Regions from separate parts of the Homo sapiens genome. Here region 2 is linked to region 1. The links are contacts of gene promoters, found by promoter capture Hi-C in human tissues and cell types (Jung and others, 2019). All regions are on one chromosome and are shown on one strand. The core of a region is centred on a gene start or on the middle of the fragment in contact, and the rest is flanking DNA. Distances in the headings are between cores, read along the strand shown. Region 1 holds the start of TMEM74 (transmembrane protein 74). Region 2 has its middle 72 kb from the start of TMEM74.

Region 1 (5,003 bases), core at 1,772-4,271:
AGTCTATAGACTTCCCTGAAGACGTGGCTTCTGAACTTGTATCATCCTCCTCTTCAGATATCAAAGATATGGCAGCCTCTTGGGACCACTCATTTGGATTTTCCCAGCCAAGCTCCCCAGGGTGATTATGCCCTTTTGCTGATGGCGAGCTCCGGTTCCGCTGCTCCAAGTTGATGTTTTTGTCCACATAGGTAAAAGAAGTTTCTAATTCCTGGCTGCAGCAGTTACAGACTTTCCGTTCCGCTGTTATTTGGTTGTTCCCTGAGTGGAGAAGTCCTGGTGGAAAGGCATCTGGCTGAAGAGTACTGTTTTGCAGAGAGGAGGAGGGGGATGCTGGAGAAGAACTAAGTTTAGACCCTTCCATCTCGGTTGCTCTTGGGGTGGATGCACACTGTTTCTGACAGCAGAGAGCAGCTCTTGTGGCTGCTGTATCTGCCTGGTCACCAGGCAGCCCTCTTGAACTCCAGTCCCTGGCATCACAGAGGTCTGCCTGGTTGCTCTTCTTAGCAAGGTAGTGGAGCTCCATGAGAGCTAGTCAGACATCCCCCAGCAGCTTCCGGAAAGTCTGCCAATAGCAACAGAGTTAGATAAGAACCCAACAGAAGCTAAGGTTGTACTTCCAGGAGTGTTGCTCCTGGGGTCCCCATTTCCTTCACAGCTGCACCTGTTTAGCCCCTTTTCCACCTCAAACAGGCAAAAGAAGGGAGGGGATACCTAGTGGCAGGAAAGTGTGGAAGGGACAAATGCTCTCACTTGTCATAGTGATTAACACTGAGAAACTTAAGTCAGGGTAGAAAGGTGCGTGGAGGAAGTGGCAGTGTCTACTGAGAAAGAATACTGCCGTCACCAAGCCAAATTTATTCAAGGACTCGCGCATTCCTGCAAAAGGATCCCTCAAACGAGAAGGCAAGTTTCCTGTAAAAAGACAAATGAGAAAGGCAAGAGCCCTTTTTAGCAGAGCTGCCGATTTTCTGGAGGACTTGGGGAAGCATAGACTTGTTAATTCAGTAAGATTGTAAGTGTTTACACTCTCCCTAGTTCAGAGCAAATTCTAATACAGATTAGCTTTGGAGCATCACCATCAGTGAATGACTATACACCCCTATCAGCTGGGCAGGAACTCAGCATTTTGATTCCATAGCTCTGAAGTAGATGAAAAAGGCCAGCTTAATCAGCCACCTCTGCTAAGCTTACACCTCATACATCCAATGACCCTAGTGACACAGCCCTGTATTTACAAGACCATATGCTGCTTATTCACTGTGCTTCCACTTAGCCCTATTCCCTCACTGCTCCATGGGGGAAGCATGTTCTGGACCCCAAAGCATACAGGCAACAGACCTTACGGCAATCCCTGCAAAATACAATGGGCCAACCCACTCCTCCACACACACACCTGCCTGCTCCAGCTGCAGGATCTGCTACTCCCGTTCCCTGGGTCTGTGTTCCTCCCTCTCTGCATGCTTTGCTATCACACAATGCACAAGAAATTGACCATCTGGATAGTTTTACAAACCCAATCTAGAAGTGAACTGATAATAAAAGACAAACTATAAACCCACAGAGTAAGAGTTCTGTGGAGACAAATAGGTGAGAAGCTATTTCCAAGGTTACCTCTGTAATTTTATAAACATGTCACTCCTCACCCCCGACTGCAGCAAGGGGCATTTCTGGGAGAGAACTTTGGTTTGAGCAGAAAACCATCGGCTTTTCTCTGCCTCTGCCATGTTTCTAAGGAATAAAAATTCACTTTCCACTATCATTAGAGATTTTAACCAAAGGCTCCTTTTATTTTGCTTCCAAATCCAGGGTGATAATTGATTTAACCCAACGGCTTGAGGCTTCTTATAATTCAAAATCCACAGCTCCAAAGCTGGTAACAGAAACACAGGCAAGGGTCACCTAAGGTCAACCTGGCAACTCAAAATATGGGAGAGGGAATTGACATGTTTTCTGCTACACCTAAGAGTTTGTTTAAAACAAAACAAAAAAAGCAAAACAGAAAACGTTTTTCTCCTGTTATCGGAGTTTCTCTACAGTGAAAACAGCAAAAAACAACAGGGCAAAAGAATCACTACTAAACTAGAACAAACCCCCACTAAAGGATCCCTCAATGAATGAAGTGATGGTAACAGGCTTCATCAATTACCGATAACTCTTCTTCCAGTTTTCTCAGGCATTAGGGGCTCTGATTAACCTTTGGTACCATTAACTCATCACACTAGCCTACCTTGGATAAAATCAGCAGGGTTCTTTGAGACTTTCAGTTTATAACAAAAGAAGAGAGAAATCCCCACTTAATTCCCTACGGCCGCCTCTACCTCTCTTTAAAGAAAAGCTACTCCCGCTTGTTCGCTTGTTCTACCGGAGGTATGCTAGCAGCACAGTCGATTTCCTTTGCAGCTCCCTAATCCGGGGTTTCCATTCTCAGTGGAGAATGGATAATCCCAGGGGACCAGCTAAAGACTCTTTTCTTCCGTCCTCTCCCTCTTTTTCCTCTGATCTGCTTAAAAGCCCAGTTAACGACATTGCACCTTAAAGCGAGGGGACACGCACTTTCCCTCGTCCATCTGTCATCAATTAAAAGCATTAATATTTGCTTTAAACTGACACAGGCAAGGCTGATCTCGGGGAGGCGACCTCTGGATGCGCCCTGTGCGAGCAAAGCCGGGAGAGCGAGCCCCAAGCACCTGGCAGCGGTGCCCCCAGCAGGCGCCGAGGAATCCGGCTATCCATTTCTGGTGAACTCTGCGCCCACTGAGGCATTCGAGGTACGGATGTGTCCGCCTAGTACTCGGAGACGAAGGAGAGAGAGCGGGGATATGCGCTCCAGCTCTGCTAGGCTCCAGGGCTCTCACCCTTGCATTCAAAGCCTCCACCCCATCCCACTCCCCGCCACTCACCTTCTGCTTCGGCCACCCGGTGCGGCTCCAGCACCGCGCGCTCTCCCGGCACGGTTCCCGGAGAAAGTCCCCCAATCACCAGCTACGGCACTTGTAGCCTCTGCACGCCGCTCGGCTCCGCCGGGTGGGCAGCGCCCGCCACGGCGGGCGGGGTGGGGCGGGGCGGGGCGCTCCCGGAGCATCCCGGGAGTTGTAGGCCAGGGGCGGTCCCTGCATCCCTCCTGTCTCTGTCTCCTCCCACGCCTTCTGGGTTTTACCCTTCCTGCAGATGAGTTCCCGCCATACCCTCTTACTCCTCCCCAGCACTTAAGAAGACAGCACTGTTTTCTAAGCCTAGAGTGGAGTTCCCTAGCCTCAGGTGTGGCCACAAGACTGTGAAAAGGAAAGTATATTCGACTTCAAATGTGCCAGATAATTTGCATATTTTGTCTTTTTAATAGTCAAAACAAATCTTCCAAGTAGATTTTATTAATCCTCATTTTACAGATGTGGAAACAGGCTCAGAGAGGGTAAGTGCCTCATCCACAGTTACCAACAGCAGCTTCTGAAATTGCATCCAGGAGTCAGATTCGAAAGTCATTGCGTGTCTCACAAAATCAGAAGAAATATGACCATAAGGGGTAAGAGATTGTCCGATGTACCAACACATCCCCTGTATTTAGCACAGTGGTATTCGTTGAATGTATGAATAATAATGACTCAAAATAACAGTTAACATAAATAGCGCTTATTATTGCCAGGCTCTCTTCTAAGCACTATAGATACATTATCTCATTTAATGGTCACAATTTATTGTTAAAGTACTGTAAAAAAAAATCCTCATTTTAACAGAAGGCAAAACTGAGTTACAAAGTAGAATAATTTGCCCAATGTCACACAACTAATACTTAGCAGAGGTGGGGGGGGGGGGATGAACACCAACAGATTCTAAGCGTTATGCTATATGGAATGAATGGAAGAAAGACCAGAAGGCCAGAATAAAAGGGCTCAGGAATAAAGGAAATCTGAAGGTTGAATCTTCTGAGTTGTGACTCTTAGGATAGGACAAGGTAACTGTGTCACCAGCCTCTTTCAACCAGAGTGGACTGCAATAGCCAACAGCCACTGAAAGCCCAGGGTATGTGTAGCTTGCAGATAATCTCCAGTTTTCCAGCATCCTGTTGGGACAATTCTAGGGGAGCAAAAAAGGATTATAGTATGGATGGGCTGGGCACGATGGCTCACGCCAGTAATGCCAGCAATTTGGGAGGCCGAGGCGGGCAGATCACGAGGTCAGAAAATCGAGACCATCCTGGCCAACATGGTGAAACCCCGTCTCTACTAAAATAGAAAAAATTAGCCGGGCGTGGTGGCGCGTGCCTGTACTCCCAGCTACTCAGGAGGCTGAGGCAGGGGAATCGCTTGAAGCCGGAGGCGGAGGTTGCAGTGAGCAGAGATCGTGCCACTGCACCACTCCAGCCTGGCGACAAAGCAAGACTCCGTCTCAAAAAAAAAAAAAAGAAAAAAAGAAAAAAGGGATTAGGGATTATAGTATGTATTATGACATTGTGCTTGTAGCTCACATAAATACTGTGGTTGCTTGCTTTCAAAAGAGAGATCTATCTCCTTTAATGACAATTATGTTGGTATTTCATTACATTGGATAGAATCTATAGTCACATGATTACAGGAGTTCACAATGCTCCCTCTTTAAAATTCTTTTTCCCCCATATGATTATATTTGTAGCCAGTGAGGCCCATTTGTTGATAAACATGACAGATGTATTATGACTTCTCCTTTGCTTACTACACGGTTCTCCAGCATGAATATCTTTCCTCCACTGCCCTATTCCATCCACACTTCAAGGACTAGTTTGTCAAGCCAAATCTACAGGGATGCATCCAGTTCTTAGTACTACATATGCAAAAAGAAATAAAGAGAGAAACTAAGATGTAGAAGGAACTTGAATTTATGTTGACGAGGAAAAACTTAGGAACTTAGGCTATTTAGCCATAGGAGAATACTGAGAGGAAACAATAAACTAGCTTCAAATATTCTGAAGTTTCTAAAAATAGAAGAAGAATTCTATAGTATATTTAAAAGGGTAAAAGCAGAACAAA
Region 2 (4,658 bases), core at 717-3,216, 73 kb before region 1:
TCCTGGAGGTAGTGTTCTCTCTGGTCAGGTGTAGAGACATGAAGAGCTCTGGTAACAGTGCATGCTAGGAATTGTAGTTTTATATTTACTTTCCTGTAATGAGACCTGGGATTCTGCACACAGAAAAAAATATGTCCCCCTAGGATCTATTCCAGAGTTATTGACGATGTTATTGGAGTCCACAAATACATGAACTTTTGTTGGTTGGTTCATTGGTTTTAGTTTCCCTGGTGACTCTAGATTTGAACATCTATTTGGGAACCACTGTCTTTTATGGATCCTTAACAGATTTTGGCAATTTGGCTAAAAATTTAGCAACTGAAATAGCATATAAGAAGATAAGGCCATAGGAAATGGGCTGAAAACTGAGACAAGAATAGACTGAGATGATAGAAAAATTGAATTATATACAATTATAAAATAATGAGATAGAAAAGGAGACTGGTTAAGAAAAAATTCTAATGGCCTTAAACTTACAGTGGCAAAACTTGACAAAGAAAAGAGATGAATTAATTGGGTAAAAAAATAAAATGGCTATGTGCAAGACCAGAAAGATGCATTCATTCAATACATATTTTTTATCACCTATGATGTGCTGGGCTGTTGGAATACAGTGGTGAACACATGATACATGGATTCAGCTATATAATTGCACTCACACACTGTAAAGGAGATAGGCACTTAATAAATATTCACAAAATACACATTAAAACTGTGATAGCAGCTATGGGGAAAATCTATGGGTGCTATTAAGGGCATACATATACCATGTTAAAATTTGTATTAGTCAGGGTTCTCCAAAGAGACAGAGTCAATAGGATATACATGATATATGAGAGGAGATTTGTTAGGATTGGCTCACACAATTATGGAGGCTGAGAAGTTGCAGGACAAGCCATCTGCAAGCTGGAGACCCTGCAATGCTGAAAACATCAAACTCAGTCCAAGTCAGAAGGCCTCAGAGCCAGGGAAGCTGATGGGGTAACAGTCCAAGGCCAAAGGCCTGAGAACCCAGGGGGCCACTGGTGTAAGTCTTGGAATTTAAAGGCCAGGGAGCCTGGAGTTGTTGCATAGGGACAGGAGAAAAAGAGTGTATCCCAGCTGCAGCAGACAGATCAACACATTCACCTTTTCTCTGTTTTTGTTCCCTCCAGACCCCCAGCAGATTAACGACACCTTCCCACACTGAGGGCAGTTCTTTCCTACCTGGTCCCCTCAGACTCACATGCTAATCTTCTCTAGAAACACCCTCACAGACACCCCAAAATAATTCTTTACCAGGCTTCTAGGTATTCCTTAATCCAGTCAAGTTGATACTAAAATTGACATAAGACTAATCTGGTCTAAAAGAGAAATAACAAGGTAAAAATGTATAGATATTCTAGAGGAGGACAATAACTGAATAACTGAAATAGAAGACAATAATAGAATAACTGAAATAGAAGAATTAATCTGTCACAGTGGAATACAATTGTATGGAGTTCAAAATACTAGGATAGTTAGATGAAATTCTCGGCAAAATTACCAAGAAAGGAGATATAGATACCCTCTGGCACAAAAGTTAAAATCTAAGAATAAAGAAAAAATTCTTCAAGTGACAAGGGAGGAACAGGTGACTGACAAAGATAGAAAATGAGTTGTCTCAGATGTTGGCGAGGCAGCAAAGAAAAGGGAACGCTTATACACTGTTGGTGGAAATGTACATTAGTGCAGTTACTGTGGAAAGCAGTTTGAAGATTTCTTAAAGAACTCAGAACTACCAGTTGAACCAATAATCCCATTACTCTATGAATATCCAAAGGAAACAAATCATTCTACCAAAAAGACACATGAACTTGCATGTTCATTGCAACACTATTCACAATAGCAAACACATGGACTCAACCCAGGTGCCCATCAATAATAAACTGGATAAAGAAAATGTGGAATATATATACCATGGAATACCATGCAGCCTTAACAAAGATCAAAATCATGTCCTTTGCAGCAACGTGGATGGAGCTGGAGGCCATCCATGTTTCCATTCTATTTTTAATTTACTAGTGATTTCCTTTACATATTGAAAAATCATTCAAATTACATTTTTCTCATTATTACATGACATAAACACAACATAAACACAACTCCGATATTTAAGCATTCTATATTGTATCTTTTCTTTTTTGTCAAAAGCTACAGAGCTGTATAAAATTTCCTTTGTAGAATGTGTTTCTATCTATATTACCTGCTTTTTAATTTTCTTTTTTAAATATCAATTTTTATGTTATGCCATTTGGCATATAAACATGTTTAGTGATTTATATCATATAACAAATATCTTTATTTAAGCTAAATATCAGGTACTTATGGACACAAAGATGGCAACACTAGATGCTGGAGGCTACTAGTGGGAGGAGGGAGGCGAGGGCTAAAACACTGCTAGGTACGATGACTCACTGCCAGGGCCAGGGGATCATTCATACCCCAAACTTCAGCATTACACGATATACTCAGGTAACAAACTTGCACTTGTGGCTCCTGAGCCTAAAATAGAAGCGGAAAAAGAAAAAAAAATGAGTTGCCTTTAAACAGTTCTGCAATGGGAAATTTTGGGAAACAGTGAATCATCATTTAAAAAAAACTGGAGAAGAAAGGCCTATAATACAATCATTTTATAGTCAGACAAGTTGTCTGACAAGTTGTGTTTATGTCATGTAATAATGAGAGGAATGTAGTTTGAATGACTTTTATATGTAAAGAAAATCACTAGTACATTAAAAAGCGAATGCACACTTTCTATATCACTGGAAATAAGTGAGAAAGCATAAAGTATAATAAAAATACAAAAAACATATACAGGCAAAGATATATATAATAAATGGGGCTAAACTTTTTTAAATTAAAAAAGTCTAACCAAATGCTGCTAAGAAGACATAAAACAAAAATTAAATTATATAGATAGCTTAAAAATAAACAGGTTTGCAAATATTTATGAGACAAGTAACCCTGGTGACAATTTTAATAGCAGACAATATAGAATTTGAAGTGAAAGATATTCATTAAGCCATAGAATACAAGTTTACTTTGAAGAAATTGTAATTCATAAGAAAGATAATAAATCACTAAACATGTTTATATGGCAAATGACATAGTATAAAAATTGATTAAAAAAAGAAAATAAAAAAGCAGGTAATATAGACAGAAACACATTCTACAAGGTAAATTTTATACAGCTCTGTAGCTTTTGACAAAAAACTGCAATGTAGAATGCTTAAATATAGTAATTACTAAGAGCAAACTTCCAAATACATTTCAAACTTTTACTCCATGAACAGAGAACATGCTTTGCCTTCAAACATCACTACACAGTAAATCAAAATATGCAATATGTTCCATGATGTAAAAAGTTACATAGGATATATTCCTAATAAAATGAAATATTAGAAATTGATTTTAAAATTTCAGTACATTAAAACTATTAAATAATTAACGAATTCAAAAACTCTTTCATCACCTACAAAAGAGGTAACCTGTTTAGAAATGGTGCTAAAGGGGCAAATGAGATATTAAAGTGTCTGTTCTCTGTTCTGACTCTGAGTCACAGAGAAAATTAATGTTAAAATTATAGATTAGAAATTTTAAAATTAGAGGACTGTACATCAAAGTTATTCAATGCACCCAATGTTACAGTGAGAGGAAAATTTACAACTTTATGTTATTTCATTATTAAACAAAACAGCATATTCATCTATTAAATGAGTATTTAACTCAAGAAGTTTAGAAAAATTAGGTAAAAAGCATGCAGGAGAAAATCATCAAAGAGAACTATTAAAAATAAAATGAGAAATTATTTAGTAAGTAAACAGCAAAACAGTAACATTGGTTTAAAACATCAAAGGGGAGTCTCTTTAAGAATTAAAAAAAAACAAAAAATACATGTAAAATATATTCAATAAAAAATGGAACATAAAAGTTTATAAAATTAATAATCAGAATATATATAAACAGAGAGAGGGAACACTGAAATATTTCAGAGCATATTATACATATTTCTACCTTGATAAATTTTAAAACTCAATGAAAATGAATGTTTTTCTAAATAAATGAAATTATAAAATTTGCCTCATTATGAACTATAAGCCAAAAATCATGGGGAAAGTATAGCTCCAGAACATGGGAAATATTAAATCTCTTATCAATCATTCATATAAAATTTGCATGATCTTGACAAAATCTGACAAAATGAGCACAAAAAAGAAAATTACATATCAACGTTACTTATATTTAATGCAAATAAGTATCCTAAATAATTACAAGCATGCTAAATTTTAACAAGCATAAAATAATAAAGGAGTTACTCAAAAAAATCAAATTAAAAATTTAACACAAGAAAAGGAATTAAAATATTATATTCCCTCAATAGGCCCAATAAAATATATGTAATCATTTCAATAGATGAATTTTAAAACCTATGAAATGATCAACTACTATCAATTCAAATCTTAATATATTTATTCAGAAAACAGTAATTGAACATCTACCATATGGAAGTTTCCTTTCTTGGTACTGGGGATACAGCAGAGACCAAAAGGACAAAAATCTCTGTTCACATGGAGTTGATATCTTAGTGGGAGAGTCAGATAACCTGAAAAATGTCAGTTATGTAGTATATTAGAGCT

What was found. The method cuts DNA at HindIII sites, captures the fragments that hold promoters and counts their contacts. A contact is called where the count stands out against the background at its distance.
Region 2: a fragment that was not itself captured here is called in contact with the fragment with the promoter of TMEM74 in region 1 in 3 of the 25 tissues and cell types used here (H1 embryonic stem cells, hippocampus and pancreas).

Annotation. Positions count from the first base shown.
Region 1 is chr8:108,784,573-108,789,575 of GRCh38, forward strand. It overlaps TMEM74 (transmembrane protein 74), which reads right to left and starts at 3,022. Exons shown (of 2, transcript NM_153015.3): 1 at 2,904-3,022; 2 at 1-565. The coding sequence starts at 526. RefSeq lists silencers at 2,248-2,542, 2,958-3,137. The HindIII fragment of the contact is 13,104 bases long and covers 1-5,003 here.
Region 2 is chr8:108,712,889-108,717,546 of GRCh38, forward strand. It overlaps a transcript of TMEM74 not described here. Among named protein-coding and RNA genes, the nearest start is that of TMEM74, 72 kb to the right of the region's middle. The HindIII fragment of the contact is 7,955 bases long and covers 1-4,658 here.